7 separate regions of the Homo sapiens genome follow, and all the other regions are linked to region 1. The links are contacts of gene promoters, found by promoter capture Hi-C in blood cells and fetal thymus (Javierre and others, 2016). All regions are on one chromosome and are shown on one strand. Each heading gives the region's core, a stretch centred on a gene start or on the middle of the fragment in contact. The rest is flanking DNA. Distances are from core to core; before and after follow the strand shown.

Region 1 (3,296 bases), core at 552-3,051:
ACTAAAATACAAAAAGCTAGCTGGGCATGATGGCGGGTGCCTGTAATCCCAGCTACTCGGGAGGCTGAGACGGGAGACTCTATTGAACCTGGGAGATGGTGGTTGCGGTGAGCCGAGCTTGCGCCACTGCACTCCAGCCTGGGCGGCTGAGTGAGACTCCGTCTCAAAAAAAAAAAAAAAAAAAGAAATGCAAATTGTTTTCAGTAGAATGCAATTGATTACTAAGCTGTGGATTTCATCAGTTCTGCCAGTTTTTGTATATATTTGTAGTTATTTCATTATTCCTCATTTGACTATGTGTGTGGTACTTTGAATTTTCCATTGAAGCAGTTGTAATCTTTCTGGATATCTCATTCATTAATGAGTTAAATAAAATCTCTAACATTTATTTTATATCTGTATTATATTTGATATTAAAATTATTCTTCAACAGTAGTATACAGTTATATGAATAAGCTGCAATTTATCTATTCATCTATTGGTGGACATCTGGGTTTTTTCCCTTTGGCTATTATGAATAAAGCTGCTATGAGTCTTTTGGTGAATAAAGGCATTCATTTTTTGGGGTAAATATCTAGAAATGGGATTTCTGGGGTATAGGGTAGGGGTAAATTTGATTTCAGTAGAGACTGATGTTTCCAAAGTGGTTGTACCATTTTACACTCCCATCAACACTGTATGAGAGTCCCATTTCTGCATCTTTGCAACTAAGGGAATTGTCAGTCTTTTCATTTCAGCTATTCTATGGAGTGTTTAATAGTATCATATTTTGGTTTCAATTTACCATAGAAGATTTTCAGGAGGGAGGTAACTTGAACAGATTTTTACATTTTAGAAAACTCTTTCTGCGTATTATGTGGAGAATGATTATTTGTATACCAAAGTTCATAGCAGCATTATTCACAATAGCCAAAAGGTGGGAATAACCAAGCATCCATTTATATGGATGAATGGATAAACAAAATGTAGTATACATGTATAATGGAATATTATTTAGCCTCAAGAAGGAAGAAATTCTGATACATGCTACAACATAGATGCTCCTTGAAGACATTATGCTAAGTGAAATAAGCCAATCAGAAAAGAGCAATTATTGTATGATTCAATTTATATGCGGTACCTCGCACTTACAGACAGAAAGTGCAATATCGGCTATAAGGGGTTGTGAGAAACGGGTAACGGGGAGTTACTGTGTAACAGGCAGATTTTCTATTTGGGATAATGAAAAAGTTCTGGAGATGGATAGTGGTGATGGTTTCACAACAATGTGAATGTACTTAATGCCAGTGAACTGTACACTTAAAAATGGTGAATTTTATGTTAGATAGATTTTATCACACACACAAAGAGGAGGGAGGGCGGGAGGGAAGGAGAGAGGGAAGGAAGTAGAGAGGGGAGAAGAGAGGAAGAAAGGAAAGAAAGTAAGATCTGGCATCACAGGGCCCACATTCCCGCGTGTCAGCAATAGGCTGAAACAGAAGCATGGTTTCTCACGTGTCCATGGAGGCATCTGAGTGTGTGCCCACTTTCCCGGTTCAATGACAATTTGCACCTGCTCGTGTAGAGGGGTACGGGTGAAACAGAGACCAGTATTATTAAGGGGATGGAGAGGAGAGACCGCCAAAACATCGCAGAGACACACCGTCGGAACCAAGAGAATGGGGTGCAGACGCCTGGCTTGGCCTGTGGGAACTGGCAAGTCTCAGCTCTCAAACGCCCGGGCTTTTCAACCCGCCACAGCCGGGTTCCAGCTGCCTACTTCCTTTAAAGCCTTCACCGACTCTAAAACACCAAAAACAAAGACCCAACTAGCTCCGGAAGCCCGAGATGTAACCGTAGTCATCTGACCCTCCCGTCCGGACTCTGATTGGGCTTTGGAGATACGCGTCCCTCCCGGCGCTGTACGGCGACCCCGCCCCAGCAGCCTGAGGGGGCGGGAACAGATGTCCGAGTGCGACAGTATTGGTCGGCTTCCCCAGGAAGCAGCCAATCGGAATAGGCAAGCTTCCGGCGGGAAGTGAGCCAGGGCTTGGCGCGGCGGCCGTGGTTGCGGCGCGGGAAGTTTGGATCCTGGTTCCGTCCGCTAGGAGTCTGCGTGCGAGGTGAGTACCGCGCGCGTAACTACGGGTCGGTCCGCATTGATCTAGCCCTGCTCTGGCGGCCCGGCCCGGAGCTGGAGGCCGCTCGGGTTCTTCCGTTTCCTGCACTGGTTCGCCTCGGCCCGCTGAGTCCTCTAGTCTGGCCAACATCCTGGGAGGACAGCAGATACATAAATACGTTCCCAAATGGGGAAACAGAGGCCCGGGGCGGGGGCGAACTCTGCCAAGGTCTCCCGGGGCGTCGGAGGCCGAGCATGGGCTAGGACCTGGCATGTTGTTGCCCATATACTCCAGTGCGTAACATGATGCCCTGCACAGAGTAATCCCAGCCCAGACCTCTGGCACTACTACCTCCGTGTCCCTCCTGAGGAACAACGAAAACACTTTGTACTTTTTCTGTGGCCTTCCATAATCACGAGCTGGGCTACTCTTGTTTTTGAGTGTCTACTGTGTGCCATGTTCCTGGCACCCTTGATCTTACAACTGTAGCTTTACGATATCCCAGCAAAGCGAAGTGCTTAAGAATACTGCATCAGATTGCTTGGGTTCGAATTCTGGCTCCTTCACATTTAGCTCTGTGTCTACTGCACGTTACTGAAACACTAAGTGTCTTGGTTTTCGTCTGTCATATGGGGGAAATGGTCTCTTCTACTTCCTGGCGTTTTTGTTAGGATTAAACGACTTAATATATGCAATAATAAATGCTTCGAAGGCTACCTGTTACATAGTACACAGTAAGGGTTCTGTTATCATTACCCAGAGAAGCGGATGAAATTGTCCCCATTTTAGACATGGAGAATCTGAAGTACAAAGAGGTTGTCTCCGTACAGAAAGAGCATTTGGTGATTAAGTGCTAGAGATACAGGATTTGAACTAAGCGCCTGATTTTAAAGTATGTCCCACAACATTAGGCTTTCTCCTATAGCCCTCACCTGTCCTTAGGTCACACAGAACTTTAGGTACCTCATGGCGTGAGATGGAGCAGGTGACTGACAGCTCCTTGTGCCACCCATGCAGATAAATAACACTGGTGTGTCACTGTCAAGATTAAGGGACAGGAATTCGAGAGACTGCATGAGAGATCAGAAGATGAAGAAGCGGGTAGGCAAAAGTATTCTGTTTGGGGAATAGTAAATAGAATTAATTAAATCAACATTTTGTTAGCTGGGCTGCTTATACTGTCAGACAGTAGCTTAT
Region 2 (3,296 bases), core at 613-3,112, 480 kb before region 1:
GCCTGGGCAACAGAGTGAGACTCTGTCTCAAAAAATAAAAATAAAAAAAAATAACTAGGGTATAGGCCCATCCCAACCTGATCATTTTTCTCTTTTTTTTTGAGACAGAGTCTCGCTGTGTCGCCTAGGCTGGAGTGCAGTGGCATGATCTTGGCTCACTGCAAGCTCCGCCTCCTGGGTTCACGCCATTCTTCTACCTTAGCCTCCCCAGCAGCTGGGACTACAGGCACCCGCCACCACACCCGGCTAATTTTTTTGTATTTTTGGTAGAGACGGGGTTTCACCCTGTTAGCCAGGATGGTCTGGATCTCCTGACCTCGTGATTCGCCCACCTCGGCCTCTCAAAGTGCTGGGATTACAGGCGTGACCCACCGTGCCCGGCCGATCATTTTTCTCTTAATAGCAGGCTCTTTCTGTCCGAGAAAGAGTTAGTCTTCTGTTAGTAAAAGCTTAGGCAAAAAGCAAGAAGCTGTCATTATGTCTCCTGTACTAAATAGACCTTGTTTGCCTCTTACAAGCCAAGGCGAATACCTGGACTGCATGGTAATAAGTATCTGTCTTCTTTTTTTTTGAGACAGAGTTTCACTCCTGTTGCCCAGGCTGGAGTGCAATGGCATGATCTCAGCTCACCGCAACCTCCGCCTCCTGAGTTCAAGCAGTTCTCCTGCCTCAGCCTCCTGAATAGCTCGGATTACAGGCATGTGCCACCACACCCAGCTAGTTTTGTATTTTTAGTAGAGACGGGGTTTCTCCATGTTGGTCAGGCTTGTCTCGAACTCCCAACCTCAGGTGATCGCCTGTCTTGGCCTCCCAAAGTGCTAGGATTACAGGCGTGCGCCACTGCACCCAGCCATAAGTATCTCTTTATAGTGAAGACATGAGAGTCAGCTTTGTGCCTGGTGACCAGCTGTGATCTAGATCTCTCAGTCACTTCACTTGGCTCTGAACCCTTCATGGAACAACCTTTGGTTTTCATTTTGCTTCCTGATTCATTTTGTACACTGACCAGCCAGCAAGAACCTTTTGTGCCATTTGGCATATTTCTCATTGTAAATTATTTTTATTTGTGAGATGGAGTCTCACTCTGTCACCAGGCTGGAGTACAGTGGTATGATCTTGGCTTACTGCAACCTCTGCCTCCCAGGTTCACCTGATTCTCATGCCTCAGCCTCCTGAGTAGCTGGGATTACAGGAGTGCACCACCACGCCCAGCTAATTTTTGTATTTTTTTTTAGTAGAGACGGGGTTTCACCATGTCGGCCAGGATGGTCTCGATCTCCTGATCTCTTGATCCGCCTCCCTCAGCCTCCCAAAGTGCTGAGCCACCACGCCCGGCCTCTCATGGTAGATTATTAAATGGGCAGTCTGAATCATTTGGTAGTCCTCGGTGAATCTGGTTAGCATATTGTCCCTCCTGTACCTGATCAACTCTTGGTACAGTGATAAAACCGAGCTGCTGATATACTTTTATTTTTTATTTTATTTATTTTTTTGAGACAGAGTCTCACTCTGTCACCAGGCTGGAGTGCAGTGGTGCGATCTTAGCTCACTGCAACCTCTGCCTCCCAGATTCAAGCGATTCTCCTGCCTTAGCCTCCCGAGTAGCTGAGATTACAGACGCCCACTACCACACCTGGCTAATTTTTTTGTATTTTTAGTAGAGACAGGGTTTCACCATATTGGCCAGGCTGGTCTCGAACTCCTGACCTCGTGATCCACCCACCTTGGCCCCCCAGAGTGCTGGGATTACAGGCGTGAGCCACCGTGCCCGGACTTTATTGTAATTTTCTTTTTTTCCCTTTTTTTTTTTTTTTTTGAGATGGAGTCTTGCTCTGTCACCAGGCTGGAATGCAGTGGCACCACCTCAGTTCACCACAACCTCCACCTCCCAGGTTCAAGTGATTCTCCTGCCTCAGCCTCCCAAGTAGCTGGGACTACAGGTGTGTGCCCACCACCACGCCCAGCTAATTTTTGTATTTTTAGTAGACACAGGGTTTCACCATGTTGGCCAGGATGGTCTCGGTATCTTGACCTCGTGATTCACCTGCGTCAGCCTCCCAATGTGCTGGTCCAGGGATTACAGGTGTGAGCCACCGCACCCAGCCCCTCATTGTGATTTTGATTTGCCTTTTCTTATTGATTAATGACGTTAAACATCCCAAATGTGCTTGTTGGCCATCTTTATATCTTATTTGAAAAAATGTCTAAGATTATCTCTTTTTTTTCTCCTTTTTTTGGTTTTGTATTATTTTTATTATCTCATTTTAAATTTTTTCGCCTGTCAGATAAGATTCTCTTTTATTAGAATAAGATACTACATTAGTCAGGCCTGGTGCAAGTGCCTGTGGTCCCAGCTACTTGGGAGGCTGAGGTGGATGGATTGCTTGAGTCTGGGAGGCAGACATTGCAGTAAGGTGAGAATAAGATACTACATTTGATCATCAAAATTATGCTTAGCTTCACTTTTTTGTTGTTGTTGTCTTTTACCTTGCAGCTCCAGCTCAAAGGATTAGCTTCACTTTTAAACATTTTTGGCCAGGTGCGGTGGCTCACGCCTGTAATCCCAGCACTTTGGGAGGCCAACGCAGGTGGATCACCTGAGGTCAGGAGTTCGAGACCAGCCTGGCCAACATGGTGAAACCTGGTCTTTCCTAAAAATACAAACATTAGCCGGGCGTGGTGACACACACCTGTAGTCCCAGCTACTCAGGAGGCTGAGGCATGAAAATCACTTGAACCTGGGTGGTGGAGGTTGCAGTGAGCCAAGATCGTGCCACTGCACTGCAGCCTGGCTGACAGAGTGAGATTCTGTCTTTAAAAAAAAAATTGACCATCTGAACCATTTCTAAGTGTATAGTCGTGTTAAGCACATTCACGATGTTGTGCGGCAAATCTCCAGGACGTTTTCATCTTGCAAACTAAGCCTCAATACTCATTAAACTTAGCTTGACTTTTGATATGTAATTTTTTATATGTTTTGTTTCCTTTCTGTTTTATTAACATGAAGTTTCTGGAGCAGCAGAGCTGAAGGAACCCAAACTTGGACTGAAGTGACTCTACTAAGGTAATGCCTCCTTTTGACATCCTATCTGGGCCAGTGGCAGACCCCTCTCCCTGACAGTGCTGGGTCCAGGGCTCCAGGCAGCCAGGGGAAGATGAAGACAGGCACTAATTTCCCCCTTGAAAGGTTGGCCCTGGACACTTACCCACACATCAGTGCCATCCTCACCCAAATGTTTCTATGCATGACCAATTGGAATCACTATGGAACATGGAAAAGCTTTTCCCACAAAAGA
Region 3 (3,296 bases), core at 417-2,916, 450 kb before region 1:
GAAGAAGGCTGGGAGGTGCTATTTTTCCAGTGCCAGAATCAGGCTCACTAGCCGTAAGTATGCAAAACTAGCTTTGGTCATTTTGACATATGTAAATCCCACTAGCAAGCATAGAGCTTGGATGCCCCTAAAATATAATATGGCACTTCCACCAGTGTAAGAATGGGGAAGTTAGGGTACCCATTTATTTACTCCTTTTTTTTTGAGACAAGGTCACGCTCTGTCGCCAAGGCTGAAGTACAATGGCTTGATCTCACTTCACTGCAAACTCCACTCACGGGCTCAAGTAATTCTCCTGACTCAGCCTCCTGAGTAGCTGGGACTATAGGCACACACCACCATGCTCGGCTAACTTTTGTATATTTTGTTTTTGCCACGTAGCCCAGGCTGGTCTTGAACTCCTGATCCACCTGAATCAGTCTCCCAAAGTGCTAGGATTACAGGTGTAAGCCACCGCACCAGGCCTATTTAATCCTTTCTGTACACTAGACCCTGGTGATAGAAATGGCAGAAATACAGTCCCAGCACTCAAGAGGTAATAGGAACATGGACAAAAAGACATACCATACCAATTACAATACAGTGTGGGAAAGACAGTGGAGGGAAGCATGAGATGCCCTTCCTCTGTGTTGGTAATTGGGCCACAGTTGGGAAAGAGGTGAACAAATCTCTTCTGTGAATACCAACTCAGGGACATCCATGTTTCCACTGCAGAAGGACAAGCCAGCAGAAGGCTAGAAGCCATAAACCGAGTCCTGGCAGGATCAGTGCCACCCACTTTAACCCCAAAGCAGGGCTATTTTCTGCAACCGGAAAGAGTGGCATCTGACTCATGGACTGAATGCACCTTGCCCTCCATGGTAAACTCTGAACACAGAGCAGCCAAGGTTCCCCTCTGCCCTGCGTCTGCACCCATGCTGCAGCGTTCCAGAGCACTCCTCAACATCAATCAGTTCAGGTAAAAGCAGGAGGGAAGCACTCTACCTCTCCTGGATAACCTCCCCAGGTTTCCAAAGGGCATTAAATCTTTGCTAAATGAATGACTGCCACCAAGTTCCACTTTGAAAAGCCCTGCCCAGGAACCCCATTTGTATAAGGCAAAATACAAAGACACCAAGAATTCCTCAATACCCTAAGATTAATTGGGGATCGGTAAAGACTAGAAGATGAAGAGGCGCCAAGGCCAGCCATGTACTCATTTCTGCTCATCAAGCCTTAGCCTGGGTTTATCGCTAGGTGATGGGTCTGAACCCTAGGTGCGGCCCGGGGCTGGAGGCCATCCAGGAGACAATGAGCCCCTTTCCCAGAGAAGCCGAGTGCCCAAGGCACTGGGCTGTCGCCGTCAGAAGACTGCCGAGCGGAAGCCCTGCCCACCGAGGTGGCGGAGACAGGCAGGCCTGGGCAGCCGCTGGGGCGGAGGGACGGCTCTTGGAAACGGAATCCGTACTTTAATTAAAGTTTATGCAGTTTTCCAGGAGCGTCCTGTACCTCATTTCGGCCCTCACGTTTCAGGGAAGCCCTCTCCACAGTTACAGGCAGAAAGGGTGGGCCACTGAGCAGCGTGAGCCCAGATCTTACCCCCACCAAGTGAAGCGGGAAATAACTTGCTACTACCCAGCCTCCGGCCCGCCCCTTCCACTTCCGGTCTTACCCGGCTACTTCCGCTGCTGTTTCGTAGCCGACTGCTGAAGGCTGGTTTGCGTCGACATGGCGGTTACCCTGAGTCTCTTGCTGGGCGGGCGCGTTTGCGCCGCCGTCACTCGCTGTGGGTTCGCGACCCGGGGGGTGGCGGGCCCAGGCCCTATTGGCCGGGAGCCGGACCCCGATTCCGACTGGGAGCCGGAGGAACGGGAGCTGCAGGAGGTGGAGAGGTACCGGCTTCTCCCCGGGCCCTCAGCTTGAAGCAGGGCCTCGTGCCCCGGCGCTCCAGGCCGCGCCCCCTTGGCGCCGGGTGTCCTGCCGCTGCTTGCGCAGCGGCCCTTGTTTCTTCTTACCCGTTGTTAGGGGCGCAGCGTCAGGTGTTCAGCTCCCCTGGGACCACTGGTCCCTTCATTAGTGACGTATTTCATCATCAGTTTAGAGAGTTCGGCATGCTTACAGGCAGTTATTGTTCTAGGTGTTAGCTTTCTGGGTGTACGGAGCAGCTCTAAGCCGGCAACATGGCCCGGTTGCCCTTGCGATCAAAGAGAAGAGGGCTGGGCGCTCCATGATTTAGCCTGAGGCTCTTCAAACATCCATTCTGCTTCCACGCATGGCTTCTGCCATTGGTTCTCTTCCCCCAGCACCCTGAAACGACAGAAACAAGCAATCCGATTCCAGAAAATTCGGAGGCAAATGGAGGCGCCTGGTGCCCCGCCCAGGACCCTGACGTGGGAAGCCATGGAGCAGATACGGTGAGACTCAGGATACCTTGTTTGTATCCGCTGTGATGAGAAGTGAAGGATGCTGGAGCCCAGAAACGGGTTTGGCTTTTTTGATACTGCTTTTATATTTTCGTTTACTTTTTGTCGTTGAAATTTATTATCAGAAAAGTAGAGTAATATAACGAACTTCCCTAACCCTGTCATTATCTAGATTTAATAGTGTTTTGTTTTGTTTTTTAAAGAGACGGGGTTTCGCTATCGCCTCGAACTCCAGACCTCAAGTGATTCTCCCGCCTCGGCCTCTCAGAGTGCTGGGATTACAGGCATGAGCCACTGCGCCCCGCCTGGTTTTAATAGTTTTTAACGTTATGACGTGGTTGGTTCATTTTTACTGAAATTTTTAAATAGTAAATCGCAGACATCACAACATTTAACCCTTGAATGTAGGTTGTGACGTTCCCAACCTAAGGTACAGGGATGCTGGTGCTTCCATAGGTAGGTGCATTTTTCTGAAGACAGGATCTATAATTTAGGAAAGCTTAAAAGAGTTTTTAAGTTTTTTTGTTTTGAGTAGGTAAAGTATTACATATGGCTCAACCTAACAGTATAACATGGTATACACATTGAGAATTATTTGTCCCACCCACTCTCCTGTGGGTACTTTTTTTTTTTTTTTTTGGTAGTTGGGGGTCTCACTCTGTCGCCAAGGCTGGAGTACAATGATGTGATCACCGGTCACTGCAGCCTCTACCTCCTGGGCCCAAGCCATCCTCCCACTTCGTCCTCCCAAGTAGCTGGGACTACAGGTGCATGCCACCATGCTTGGTTAATTTTGTTTATTTTTTGTAGAGATAGCCTCATCATGTTGCCCATGCTAGTCTCCAATTCCCAGGGCTCAAGCGATCATCCCACCTCAGCCTCCTAAAGTGTTGG
Region 4 (3,296 bases), core at 797-3,296, 420 kb before region 1:
ATGGCTGGGATTACAGGCACCCACCACCATGCCTGGCTAGCTTTTGTATTTTTAGTAGAGACGGGGTTTCTTCATGTTGGCCAGGCTGTTCTCGAACTCCTGACCTCAGGTGATCCACCTGCCTTGGCCTCCCGAAGTGCTGGGATTACAGGCGTAAGCCACCGCACCCAGCCCAAAAGCTTTGTGTTTTTCAAGATATTTGACATGTTTCTTGTTTTAAAAAAAAAATCTTAATAATGTAGGAGAATAAAAGAAACGTTTTTCCAAAAAAAGAGAAATCATTGTGATTATTTTATCTTATTGGAATGTTGGATACTATAGCCTGCTTCATTAATCATCAAGCATGCTATGGATTTTCCATTTTTATAGGATCTGTATCTCAGTTAAGGTAATACTGGTAATTATTGTACTCCATTTGAAGATGAAAAATATAGGCCAAAATTATAGACCTTGCATAGAAGCTGGATAATGGAGACAGCTCTGGAGGAACACGTAGATACACACACACAGACACACATATATATAAAGAATACACACATACATTTTTTAAAGTTTATTTTTTACAGTTTTAAAGGTTTTAAAGCAAAAGCCGGCCCCTCCCCTCTGAGTGGGCGGCCCCTCCCTCTCTCTGAGTGGTCGGGTACAGCGGTTGCATGGGCAGCTTTCCTTGTGAACCACAGGTCCTTCTGGACACGGTGCTACCTGGCCACGCCTCCTTTCCCTTTCATATTTCTCATTGACCAATGGGCTTGGAGCATTAAGGCCACGCCCCTATTCTGCATTCTAGTGGGGCCCCGGTTATGCCTCTTCTGGCTCAGTTGCACAGCTGCCTGGTAGGTGACTGGAGGCATTCATCAGTGCTCACTGGGATTTCACTGATGTGGCCCAACCCCGCCTCCCTCCACACCCCATGATGTCAGAAAAAACACGACAGGGCAAATGGGCCGCAGCCAGGAAAAAGGTAAAACGCACCAGGTCATGGCCCCCAACCCAGCCACAGATCCCCTCCGACAACAAGACCGTTGCCGGAGTCCATACCACCCCTGAGGCACACTGGACTGGGCCCCCCAACCCCAGCCCTCCTCCCTAGCCCGCCAGGCCTTTGTTTCCCCACCTGTAAAATGGGGCAGTGTAGCCCTCACATGAAATGGTACTTCTAAGGCACCTGTGAGCCGGAGCCCTGCTCTGATGGCTGTGGGAGAGAGGGGATGATTTTTCTAACCTCCCTCCACCCTTCCCAGTGCTATGGGAGGCAGACACCAAGTTCTGGGGTCTCCAGTTGCAGCGGGTGGCTGCTGATTGCTTCTCTCTGTCCAGAACGAGAACAAGAGCGCACTGCAGTTGGAGCAGCAAGTAAAGGAGCTGCAGGAGAAGCTGGGCTAGCTGAAGGGGACGGTAACCTCCGACCCGTCCAAGAAGGTCTGGGAGGCGGGCACCAGCCTCTGGGGAGGGGAGGTGCCAGGCCAGAGGCAGCTGCAGCCTGGGGGCAGGTGACCCCAGCACCCTCCAGGGCAGTCCTATGACTGTTTCTTGCTTCCTGCCCTCTGACTTTTAGAGGTGGGTAGCCCTGGCTCCTCCCAGGTCTGGACATCATCATCCCAGCTAGAGGCATGGAGCCCTCCAATCACAGAGGAAGAGACAGTGGCATAAGAGGCTCCTTATACCAGGTGCAGTGGCTCACACTTGTAATCCCAGCATTTTGGGAGGCTGAGGCAGGAGAATCACTTGAGATCAGGAGTTTGAGACCAGCCTGGCCAAAATGGCAAAACCTTATCTCTACAAAATTACAAAAAAAAAAAAAAAAAAAAATTAGCCGGGCATGGTGGTGCATGCCTGTAATCCCAGCTACTCAGGAGGCTGAGACATGAGAATCACTTGAGCCCAGGAGGTGGAGGTTGCAGTGAGCTGAGATCGCACCACTGCACTCCAGCCTGGGACACAGAGTGACACTGTCCCAAAACAAAATATGAAAAAAACCAAAACGACTCCTTAGATTCAAACTGGATTCCGGCCTCGGTTCCACTGGTCATCATTCAACTACTTTCCATCTCTAAGTCTCTGTTTCTTTAACTTCAAAAGGAAGTGAGCTTTTTCTTCGCAGAGGTGCCGAGGGTTAAATGAGATAATACGTGGAAACATTAGGCATGTAGCACACTTAGCAGATGGTGGTTGGCTCCCTCTGCTTTTCCACCAGTCTGTGGCCTACAGTTTAAATGGCTGGAAGAAGAACGTGAGATTTGAGGCTGGGGAAGGAGGCATGGGGTTCTAGGCAAGGGAGGCAGTCTCTTAGGCCTGGAGCAAGGGGCCAGGGGCCTGGGCAGGCCACAGAGCCCCACAGTGCCCTCACTACCCTATTAATGGGCCAGGAATCTGGAAGCCAGCCACCAGCTGCCCTCATGCCCAGGGACTTCCAGCAGGTGGAGCTGAAGAGCCAAGAGGCTCAGAGTCTGCAGCAGCAGCGAGGCCAGTACCTGGGTCACCTGAAGCAGTACGTGGCCACTTATCAGCAGCAGGTGGCAGCCTATCAGCAGCTGACCTCTGAGAAGGAGGCGCTGCACAGGCAGTTACTGCTGCAGACCCGGCTCATTGGACCAGCTGCAGCAGCAGGAAGCTCAGGGCAAAGCAGTGGCTAAGATGGCCCGCCAAAAGTTGCAGGAGACCCAGGGGAGGGAGTTGCTGAGGACGGGGCCCCAAGAGGGACAACCTGGCAACCTCTGTGCCTTCTCACCCTCTTTCCTGGCATCTCAGGAGCACCTGGAAGCTACCAGCCAGCAGAACCAGCAACTACAGGCCCAGTTGAGCCTCATGGCTCTCCCTGGGGAAGGTACGGGACACCACTCAGAGGAAGAGGAGAGAGCCCCAGGAGGAAAGGGGGACTGTTAGCACTGTAGGATTGAGGAGATGGAAGAGACCTTTAAGACAGCTGGCCATTATGCTGACTGGGTGTCTGCACTAAGTTTGGCATCAATATGGTGACCTCCTGGGAGCGGGGGACCACCAGGTTGCCTAAGGATGGGAGAACTGGCCCAGGTCAGAAATGGAGCAGGTCAGAATTCCTGCACCAATCGGTAGTGGGACTGTGCCTGGGCAATATAGCAAGATCTTGGTTCTTAAAAGTAAAAATAAAGAACAGCTCATTCCCCTCTGGGGAGGGGCTGGCTCAAGGTTACACAGTGAGTGTGGGGGCAGAGGTGAGCCCACAGTACCTCCCTTGTTGGGTTGTCTGAGGACCCCTCTGGCCACCCCCCCACAGGAGATGGAGGAGGAGGCGCCTCAGCCCATGCCGAACATCCCAG
Region 5 (3,296 bases), core at 324-2,823, 390 kb before region 1:
CCTTCTGAGTAGCTGGGACTACAGATGGGCACCACAACACCTGGCTAATTTTTTATTTATTTATTTGTAGAAAAGAGGTTTCTTGACTGTGCGCGGTGGCTCACGCCTATAATCCTAGCACTCTGGGAGGCCAAGGTGAGGTGGACAACTTGAGGTCAGGAGTTCGAGACCAAGGTGACAACATGGTGAAATCCCCGTCTCTACTAAAAAGACAAAATTAGCAGGGGGTGGTGGTGCATGCCTGTAATCCCAGCTACTTGGGAGGCTATTATTTTTAGTAATAATAATAATTTAGTAATTTTTGTATTTTGTATTTTCACCATGTTGGTCAGGCTTGTCTTGAACTCCTGACCTCAGGTGATTCACCCACCTCGGCCTCCCAAAGTGCTGGGATTACAGGTGTGAGCCACCACGCCCCGCCACCAAAACCAGTTTTATTGAGGCAGCAGTGTTACCGCTCTGTAACTGCTCCTGCAGGAAGAGCTAGCCCATAGTCAGTGTGTGGAGAGTAGCAGCTAAGGGGCAGTTCCACAGTCATATTTATACCCACTTTTAATTACATGCAAATTAAGGGATGGGTTTTTCAGAAATTTCTAGGAAAAGGGTATAACTCCCAGGTTGTTGCCATGGAAAGGGGCAGTAACTTCTGGGTGTTGCCAGGGCACTGGTAAACTGACATGGCACTGGTGGGCATGTGTTATGGAGAGGTGCTTTCCCCTCTTCCCTGTTTCAGCTAGTCTTCAATCTGGCCTGGAGTACAGGCCTGCCTCCTGCCTCACAACTGCTGCTAATCAGGATGTATACTGAGGGTAACTTGACTCTATGCTCCCAGTTTGCAATATCTAGCTTGGCCCAAATAGATCCTCTGTCTTACTATTGTTATTTATTTTTTTTTAAGAGAAAAGGTCTTGCTCCTGTTGCCCAGACTGGAGTGCAGTGGCAGGATCTTAGCTCACCATAACCTCGAACTCCTGGGCTCAAGCAATCCTCCTGCTTCAGCCTCCTGAGTAGCTGGGACTACAGACATGAGCCACCATGCCTGGCTAATTTTTAAATTTTTTGTACAGATGGGGTTTCACTATGCTGCCCAGGCTGTTCTCAAACTCCTGGCAAGCAATCCTCCCAACTCAGCCTCCCAGAATCCTCGATTACAGGAGTGTACCACTATGCCCAGCCCCAGATAAATTCTCTACTTATATTAATTTTGCTTCAGCTTCCTTCTAGGTTGACAGTTCCCAGTTGACTCTCAAAATGTTTGTGAAATTAAGCAATTTCACTGGGGCATGGTGGCTCACACCTGTAATCCCAGCACTTTGGGAGGCCCAGGTGGGCAGATCTCTTGAGGTCAAGAGTTTGAGACCAGACTGGCCAACATGGTAAAACCCTGTTTCTACTAAAAATCCAAAAAAAAAAAAAAAAAAAAAAAGTCAACCAGGCATGGTAGCGCACGCCTGTAATCCCAGCTACTCGGGAGGTTGAGGTGGGAGAATCACTTGAACCCAAGAGGCGGAGGTTGCAGTGAGCCGAGATCATGCCACTGCCCTTCAGCCTGGGCAACAGAGAGAGACTTCATTTAAAAAAAAAAAGGCAATTTATTTAGTGATGTAAAAGTTTTCATGGATATATAAGGGAATCAGGGAGTCCTCAAGGCGGAAGAAGGTGAAGGAACAGAGCAGGGGAGGAAGAGGAGGGAGGAGAATCTCCCCCAGGCTGAGCAGACCAGGGCACTGAGCTCCAGATGTTTGCACCCCTCCTTTGTTTTCCCCATCTCTTCCCTACTCTCCAGGCCAGTCAGATGGCAAGGCCTGGACAACTGGAAGGAAAGAGAATGAAGGATGGAACTGGGGCGGCAGCTGTGTTGGCCACACAGGCCCTTCTGACTGGGCAGCATGGAGGCCACTTCTGCCAGCCTGAGAGTTGCAGAAGTAGATGGCAGGGAATCCCCTGCTTGGGGATGACACAGTAGGTAGATTAGAAAGTTGGAGAACAGGAACCGTAAGCCACTAGCAGGAACATGGTTGAAGAGCCGACCGTGGAGTCCAGACTGAGGGAGGAGGTAGAAAAGGAACAATAAGCAAGGAAGCAGAGGAGGCTGTGGCAAGGATAATGGGCAGCCCCAGTTATTCTAAGGGAAAAGGAGAGATGGAGTTGAGAGGCTGAAATGGAAGCAGCTCTGTGATGTGGCTGGCCTTTCGAGGTTACTGGAGCAGAGGAGGTAAAGGGACCATGAGCACAGGTGGTGGTGCTGTAATTAATAAGGATGAGGCCGGGCACGGTGGCTCACACCTGTAATCCCAGCACTTCAGGAGGCCACGGCAGGTGGATCACTTGAGGTCAGGAGTTCTAGACCAGCCTGGCCAACGTGGTGAAACCCCATCTCTACTAAAAATACAAAAAATTAGCTGGGTGTGTGGCGGGCACCTATAATCCCAACTACTCAGGGGGCTGAGGCAGGAGAATCACTTGAACCCGGGACACGGAGGTTGCAGCAAGCTGAGATCGTGCCATTGGACTCCAGCCTGGGCGACAATAGCGAAACTCCGTCCCCCCACCAAAAAAAATAATAAAATAAATAAGTATGCTGAAGCCACTGAGGATGAGAGCAAGACACTGGGATAAGGGGAGCCTGGTAGCCAGGTCCTAAAGCCATTCCAGAGGGCTGCAGAATGGCCCAGAGAAGAAGTTCTCAGCTAAGGCATGGCACTAATGACTAATCGATGGTTGTAATCATTTCTTCCTTTTTTTTTTTTTTTGAAACAAGGTCTTGCTCTGTCACCCAGGCTGGAGTGCAGTGGCACAATCATGGCTCACTACAGCCTTGACTCCTGGGTTCAAGCAATCCCCCTTCCTTAGCTTCCCAAAGTAGCATTACAATCAGCACCAGGAATTGAGCCCAGCTGAACTGAGCCACCATACGCATAGCAACTACAATTGAAATCTAGATGGGCGTGCTGTGCGTGAGGCAGGTGTTGGTAGGTCAGGCTACAAATTAAGTCTCAATCAATATTATTTTATTTTATTTTTTGAGACAGGTGAAATCTGAGAACATTATAAGTGAAATAAGCCAGTCAGACAAAGACAAATACTGTACGAGTCAGCTTATATGAGGTACTTAGAGTAGTTAAAATCTTAGAGGCCAGGCATAGTGGCTCACACCTGTAATCCCAGCACTTTGGGAGGCCGAGGTGGGAGGATTGCTTGAGCCCAGCAGTTTGACGCTAGCCTGAGCAACATAGTGAGACCCTCTCTCTCCAAAAATAAAATAAAATAGAATAAAATAAAATAAAATAGTCAGG
Region 6 (3,296 bases), core at 318-2,817, 370 kb before region 1:
ACTTGAGCCCAGGAGTTCAAGACCAGCCTCAGCAACATAGCAAGACCCCCTCTCTATAAAAAATTTTAAAATTAGCCAAGTGCAGTAGCACATGCCTATAGTCCTAGCTGCTTGGGAGGCTGAGGTGGAAGGATCACTTGAACCTGGGAGTTTGAGGCTGCAATGAACTATGATCACACCACTGCATGGAAGCCTGGGTAAGAGAGTGAGACCCTGTCTCTAAAAAAAAAGTTTCAGGTGTCAACTTGACTAGATTAAGGAATACCCAGATAGCTGAGAAAGCTTTATAGTTATGCCTGTAAGTGTGTTTGGAAGAGACTGGCATTTAAATCAGTAGACTGATAAGGAAGATCTGCCCTCACCCAGGGTGGATGGTAGCATCCACTCAGCTGAGGGCCCAGATAGTGCAAAAGGGCAGAGGAAAGGCGAATTTTCTCTCTCTCTCTTCTGAGCTGGGACACCCTTCTCCTGATGTTAGACATCAGAACTCCAGGTTCTTCAGCCTTCAGACTTCAGGACTTGCACCAGCAGCCCCTCAAGTTCTTGGGCCTTTGAACTTAAACTGACTCACACTACTGGCTTCCCTGGTTCTCTATATCTATATATCCTATTGATTCTTTCTCTCTGGAGAACCCAGACTAATACACTCACTGTGATCCTTGCCTCCAAGTATTCATACCTTTGTGTAGTCCCCTCCCACACTGTACCAGGGTTGGTCTGTGTGACCAAAGGAGTATGGCAGAAATGATGGTCTATCACTTCCAAGGTTAGATTGCAGCTTCTGCTTCTTTCTCTCAATCACTCACCCTGGGGAAGCCAGCTGACACGTTGTGAGGAGAAGCTACACGTGAGGAAACAGTCACATGAGGGAGCTTGGGAGCAAGCTGATCATCCAGCCCCAGTCAATCCTACAGATAACTGTAGTCCCAGCCAGTGTCTAGACTGCAACCTTGTGAGAGACCTTCAATTAGAGATACTCACCTAGGCTGTTCCAGATTCCTAATCAACAGAAATAAAATAATTTTTTTTGAGACAGGGTTTCACTCTGTCTTCCAGGCCAGAGTGCAGTGGTGCCATCCTGGCTCACTGCAGCCTCAATCTCCCCAGGCTCAAGTGATCCTCTTACCTCAGCTTCCCAGGTAGCTGAGACTACACGTACGCATCACCAAACCCAGCTGATTTTTTTATTTTTAGTAGAGACGAGGCCTTGCCATGTTGCCCAGGCTGGTCTTGAACTCCTGGGCTCAAGCAATCCTCCTGCCTCAGCTTCCCAAAGTGCTGGGATTACAGGCATAAGCCACTGCACCTGGCAAATGTTTTGTTTTGTTTTTTAAGGTAAGCAATTATTTCATTTCCTTGGTGAAGGGGTGGCCTGCCCCTCCACACCTGTGGGTATTTCTAGTCGGGTGGGACAAGAGACTGAGAAAACAAATAAGACACAGAGACAAAGTATAGAGAAACAACAGTGGGCCCAGGGGACCGGCACTCAACACACCAAGGACCTGCACTGGCACCGGCCTCTGAGTTCCCTCAGTTTTTATTGATTATTATTTTCATTATTTCAGCAAAAAGGAATGTAGTAGGAGAGCAGGGTGATAATAAGGAGAAGGTCAGCAAAAAACATGTGAGCAAAGGAATCTATGTCATAATTAAGTTCAAGGGAATGTACTATGACTGGACGTGCACGTAAGCCAGATTTATGTTTCTCTCCACCCAAACATCTCAGCGGAGTAAAGAATAACAAGGCAGCATTACTGCAAACATATCTCGCCTCCCACCATAGGGCGGTTTTTCTCCTATCTCAGAATTGAACAAATGTACAATCGGGTTTTATACCGAGACATTCAGTTCCCAGGGGCAGACAGGAGACAGTGGCCTTCCTCTATCTCAACTGCAAGAGGCTTTCCTCTTTTACTAATCCACCTCAGCACAGACCCTTTACGGGTGTCGGGCTGGGGGACAGTCAGGTCTTTCTCATCCCACGAGGCCATATTTCAGACTATCACACGGGGAGAAAACTTGGACAATACCCCGCTTTCAAGGGCAGAGGTCCCTGCAGCTTTCCACAGTACATTGTGCCCATGGCTTATTGAGACTAGAGAATGGCGATGACTTTCACCAAGTATACTGCTTGTAAACATTTTGTTAACAAGGCACGTCCTGCACAGCCCTGGATCACTTAAACCTTGATTTTATACAACACATGTTTTTGTGAGCTCCAAGTTGGGTCACAGTGGTTGGGTCAAAGTGGCTGGGGCAAAGCTACAAATTAACAACATCTCAGCAAAGCAATTGTTTAAAGTACAGGTCTTTTTCAAAATGGAGTCTCTTATGTCTTTCCTTTCTACATAGACACAGTAACAGTCTGATCTCTCTTTTCCCTTCACTTGGCCTGACAGCATTGACTTCATTACACAAGAACTTGCAGCTGACAGAACTGACACACAGATTTCCCCCAAGAGGAAGAACCCTTTTCATTTGCAGAGATGAATTGAAATGTCATGTCTGAGTGCAATTCCTGCTCCCCACTCCCACCCCACAAAATCCTATAAGTGATAATAAATCAATAAAATCCCCATGATTTACTAAAAGTCATCCCTGCAAACCTTTCTAACTAGCAGCTGCAGTGGATAACCAAGAAGGGAAGCAGCTGGCCATCACATAGCATTCCTGTGAGTGTGAGAATGAAGGGACAGCAGCATGGGAGCGAGAATCCTGAATGAGTGAGAGGTATAGATAATCTACCTCACTTCATACCTGCCCCTTCCCTACATAAGACATCTCTGTCCTGATACATGGAAAATACTAGAGGAGATGGTAGAAGTGGTTTTAGTCTGCAATTGGAAATGCCTGAAGCTTATTAAATTCCAAGGTAGGGGTGAGATGAGGAGCACCAGAGAGAAAGAGCAGGTTAGACAGAGATGCTCAACTCACTCTGTCAATTCCAGTTTAATGCTATTTAACAACAAAATTATCTTCTTAATCATAACCACCCTCATGCCTAACCCCTATTTTCCAAAGATAAGAGATCCCTGTCTAAATTTCTGGGTTGGTGTCTACTGCCGCCCCTGGGGTGGTACTGTGATGTTTGTGAGTGAGATTGCAACTGGGATGGGAGAAAAGAAGTGTGGGATACGGAAGATCGGGGGCCACGATGCATCAATTACAGTGGGTCTCTTTTCGTCCCCAGGTATGGCCCACTACCACAAGTCCCCTTTCCCTACCTGTCTTGTGCAACTGTCAAAAACAGAATCTCTGCCCAAAGAGAAGGGAGCACAGGGAGTTGCTGCTGGACT
Region 7 (3,296 bases), core at 572-3,071, 350 kb before region 1:
CTCTCATAGTGAGGGATTAAAAAAAAAAAAAACTGTTGAAAAATTAGGGCGTAAAAATGCTAAATGACATGACTCATCATGGGCCACGTAGTTAACAGAAGAGCCAGATTTGGCTGCAAGTCACTAGATTTCCAGCCTGCAGTCCTCCTCTGCAACAACAGACCAGCTCTGGGATTTGTTACAGTGCCTGTGAGACATTACAGGACTGGAGGACCCATATTATATCCATTAAACCAGTCTGAATTTGGAAATGATGGAGGGTGTAGTCTAAGTTGTAGGGAGCTTTGCAAGAACCTGTGCTGGGGTCCTTGATCCTGGTGGAATGGGGGTGGAGGAGTGAGCGCAAATGCAAGGGGTTAAGGAGGGAGCTGGGTAGTTATCACTTTTTAGAGTGCAAAGTGGTGGATTAAAGGTTTCTTTTCTTTCATTCTCTTCCATTATATGGAATGCCATCTGAGTGCTGTGGCTCATGAAGGATAGAACTCAGCTGATAACCTTACCTCAGTTTTTGAAAGCATCATTAGATAATTGACCAGAAAATTTTTTTTAGTTAATCCAGTGCAGTGGTTCTCAAACTGTGAGCCCAGTCCAGTAGCATCAGCATTATCTGGGAACTTTTTAGAAATGCAGATTCAGGCCGGGTGCAGTGGCTCACACCTGTAATCCCAGCACTCTAGGAGGCCGAGGCGGGTGGACCACCTGAGGTCAGGAGTTTGAGACCAGCCTGGCCAACATGGCAAAACCCCACCTATACTAAAAATACAAAAATTATCCAGGTGTGGTGGCATGTGCCTGTAATCCCACCAATTTGGGAGGCTGAGGCAGGAGAATCACTTGAACCCAGGAAATGGAGGCTGCAGTGAGCTGAGATCACACCTAGTCTCGAACTCCTCACCTCAGGTGATCTGCCTGCCTCAGCCTCCCAAAGTGCTGGGATTACAGGTGTGAGCCACCGTGCCTGGCCACCTATCATTTTGTTTGTTTTTCATGTTGTTCAGCTATTGTAAGATGTGAGGGTTTTTTTGTTTTTTGTTTTTTTTAGGTGAAGTCTTGCTCTGTTGCCCATGCTGGAGTGCAATGGCATGATCTTGGCTCACTGCAACCTCTGCCTCCCAGGTTCAAGCGATTCTCCTGCCTCAGCCTCCGGAGTAGCTGGGATTACAGATGCATGTCACCATGCCCAGCTAATTTTATATGTTAAGTAGAGACGGGGTTTCACCATGTTGGCCAGGCGGGTCTTGACCTCCTGACCTCAGGTGATCCACCTGCCTTGGCCTCCCAAAGTGCTGGGATTACAGGCGAGAGCCACCTCACCTGGCCACCTATCACTTTGATTTTCATGTTGTTTGGCTATGGTAAAATGTGAGCTCTCGAAGGGCAATGTGAGATTTGCTTTGTGGCCCTGCCAATCCCCTCCCTCCTCCCTGTCTTCCTGCCCACCCCCCCCCACTCCCCCGCCAGCCATGAGCAGGGAATATTTCAATGCTATTGCTGAGAGTGGAGGTAACCCTTTCTATAGTTTTCTTTTGTTTCTACCTCATGACTAGATGATTCACTGCTTGAACATGCTCCACACATCCGTTCTTTCTCACTCCAAAATTGAGGTCATCACCAAGCCCCATTAATTTTACCTCCCAGATTCCTCTCGAACCTATCTGTCAAATCTGTCCATCTTCACTGCCACCCTTCAGTACCAAATGACCAGTCTCTTACCTGAATTCCTGTAGCAGCCTCCAAACTGATCTTCCTGATATGATTTTTGCTCTGAAAAAACTGGTTTCACTCACAGAAACCAGAGTGAACTTTTAAAATCCTAAATCGAATCACATCACTTCTCAGCAGCTTTCCATTGCTTTTAGAATGAAGACCCAAATCCTTACCCAGGCCTAAGAGGCCCTTGTGGTTTTGTCCCCTCCCCCTCCATCCTCTTGTGATATCCCCTTCCCTCTCCCTTGCCTCACCTCAGCACTCTTGAGTTCTCTGCTCCTTGGTCATGCCAAGGTTGTGTGCTCTTTAGACCCTTGGTACTAACTGTTCCCTCTGCCCAGAATGTTCCTCGCCCAGTCCTTTGTGTTGCCTCCTATTTGTCAACCAGGTTTCAGCCTAAACCTATCTCCTTAGGAAGACTTTCCCTAACTATCCCATCTAAATTAGTCACCCTCCATCACATTATCCTCTTTTTTCATCAAAGTCCTTACACCTGTCTGGCAATTTCTTATTAATTGATTTGTTTTTGGTAAACTCCACGAAAGGTGGGAGTCATTTCTCTTGTTTCCATTCTTTCCACAGCACTTAGAACAGTGCCTGGCACATGGTAGGTGCTCAATATGTGTTTACTGGATGAATTAATGAGTGCATGCTCATGGGCAAGGATCTCATTGTGCTGGAAAAGCAGCAGAGTGAGACAAAACTGGACAGGTGAGTGAAGGTCACACCAAGAAGGTTCTTAGCTGCCAAACTAAAGGGTTTGGATCTTACTCTCTGGAGAAAAGGGTGTAGCTAGTGGTTTTATAGGAGAGGAGAGGCGCGATCCGCACTTGAGAAGGTCAATTTGGCCGCTGTGTGTAGGTCATATTACGGAGAAAAAAACTAAAGGCTTTGAGACAATCCATGATGTAAAGGGCTTAGCACAGTGCCCAGCACGCAGTAGGTCTCCAGCGAGTCGTTATCACCAAGCACCAGGGCAGGCACCACAACAAAAAGATAAGATCCCTAACCCTTCTTTTACCTCGAAATAATTCCTCCTAGACCCTATCATCGCATTCCTTCTCTTCCCCTTTTGTCAAACTTCCACTCACATGTAGATATTCTCAGGGTTATCATGCCTAGGCCTTTTTAATAGGGCCACTTACCCTAGCATGCTTCTACAACTGGACCCTCAAAGGTCTTTTAGGGCTGAGTGTGGTGGCTCACACCTGTAATGCCAGCATTTTGGGAGGCCGAAGCCAGAGGACTGCTTGAGCCCAGAGGTTCAAGACCAGCCTGGGCACCATAGCCAGACCCTGTCTCTACAAAAAATAGTTTCAACAAATTAGCCAGGCATGGTGATGTGCGCCTGTCATCCCAAGTACTTGGGAGGCTGAGGTGGGAGGATTGCGGATTGCCTGAGCCCAGGAGTTCAAGGCTGCAGTGAGCTGTGATCATACCACCGTACTCCAGATTGCGTGACAGAGCTAGAACTTGTCTCTTAAAAAAAAAAAAAGACTTAATTTCCACATCTGAAGGCCTCTTGTTAGTCTTCTTCTGATTCAACAACTCTTTACTGTTTGATGCCATTTACATATGTTTATTATTTT

The links. Contacts are between HindIII fragments. The CHiCAGO score rates a contact against its expected background, and 5 or more counts as called.
Region 2: a contact is called between a fragment that was not itself captured here and the fragment with the promoter of CRTC3-AS1 in region 1, in 2 of 17 cell types (fetal thymus and non-activated CD4 T cells). The highest score is 5.2, in fetal thymus.
Region 3: a contact is called between the fragment with the promoter of NGRN here and the fragment with the promoter of CRTC3-AS1 in region 1, in 6 of 17 cell types (total CD8 T cells, erythroblasts, naive CD8 T cells and 3 more). The highest score is 7.4, in total CD8 T cells.
Region 4: a fragment that was not itself captured here is called in contact with the fragment with the promoter of CRTC3-AS1 in region 1 in 1 of 17 cell types (erythroblasts); the score reaches 5.2 in erythroblasts.
Region 5: a contact is called between a fragment that was not itself captured here and the fragment with the promoter of CRTC3-AS1 in region 1, in 6 of 17 cell types (total B cells, total CD8 T cells, erythroblasts and 3 more). The highest score is 9.5, in total B cells.
Region 6: a fragment that was not itself captured here is called in contact with the fragment with the promoter of CRTC3-AS1 in region 1 in 1 of 17 cell types (activated CD4 T cells); the score reaches 6.0 in activated CD4 T cells.
Region 7: a fragment that was not itself captured here is called in contact with the fragment with the promoter of CRTC3-AS1 in region 1 in 1 of 17 cell types (activated CD4 T cells); the score reaches 5.2 in activated CD4 T cells.

The regions. Positions count from the first base shown.
Region 1 is chr15:90,715,339-90,718,634 of GRCh38, forward strand. It overlaps CRTC3-AS1 (CRTC3 antisense RNA 1), which reads right to left and starts at 1,802. Exons shown (of 4, transcript NR_120372.1): 1 at 1,643-1,802. BLM (BLM RecQ like helicase) reads left to right here and starts at 2,008. Exons shown (of 22, transcript NM_000057.4): 1 at 2,008-2,102. The HindIII fragment of the contact is 2,609 bases long and covers 1-2,002 here.
Region 2 is chr15:90,235,485-90,238,780 of GRCh38, forward strand. It overlaps GDPGP1 (GDP-D-glucose phosphorylase 1), which reads left to right. Exons shown (of 4, transcript NM_001013657.3): 3 at 3,008-3,064. It also overlaps a transcript of CIB1 not described here. Among named protein-coding and RNA genes, the nearest start is that of GDPGP1, 2.9 kb to the left of the region's middle. The HindIII fragment of the contact is 2,831 bases long and covers 448-3,278 here.
Region 3 is chr15:90,264,006-90,267,301 of GRCh38, forward strand. NGRN (neugrin, neurite outgrowth associated) reads left to right here and starts at 1,667. Exons shown (of 3, transcript NM_001033088.3): 1 at 1,667-1,871; 2 at 2,283-2,393. The coding sequence starts at 1,708. It overlaps TTLL13 (tubulin tyrosine ligase like 13), which reads left to right. Exons shown (of 15, transcript NM_001396017.1): 14 at 1-53; 15 at 715-1,472. The coding sequence ends at 962. It also overlaps a transcript of CIB1 not described here. RefSeq lists enhancers at 679-1,650, 1,138-1,267, 1,628-1,857, 1,651-2,621. The HindIII fragment of the contact is 8,147 bases long and covers 1-2,899 here.
Region 4 is chr15:90,291,084-90,294,379 of GRCh38, forward strand. It overlaps the pseudogene GOLGA2P8 and the pseudogene RN7SL736P. Among named protein-coding and RNA genes, the nearest start is that of NGRN, 27 kb to the left of the region's middle. RefSeq lists enhancers at 2,130-2,289, 2,133-2,633, 2,634-3,134. The HindIII fragment of the contact is 3,738 bases long and covers 178-3,296 here.
Region 5 is chr15:90,323,935-90,327,230 of GRCh38, forward strand. No RefSeq gene overlaps it. Among named protein-coding and RNA genes, the nearest start is that of ZNF774, 27 kb to the right of the region's middle. The HindIII fragment of the contact is 8,593 bases long and covers 1-3,296 here.
Region 6 is chr15:90,345,201-90,348,496 of GRCh38, forward strand. It overlaps the pseudogene GABARAPL3. Among named protein-coding and RNA genes, the nearest start is that of ZNF774, 5.4 kb to the right of the region's middle. The HindIII fragment of the contact is 2,574 bases long and covers 281-2,854 here.
Region 7 is chr15:90,362,891-90,366,186 of GRCh38, forward strand. No RefSeq gene overlaps it. Among named protein-coding and RNA genes, the nearest start is that of ZNF774, 12 kb to the left of the region's middle. RefSeq lists a silencer at 1-281. The HindIII fragment of the contact is 7,636 bases long and covers 1-3,296 here.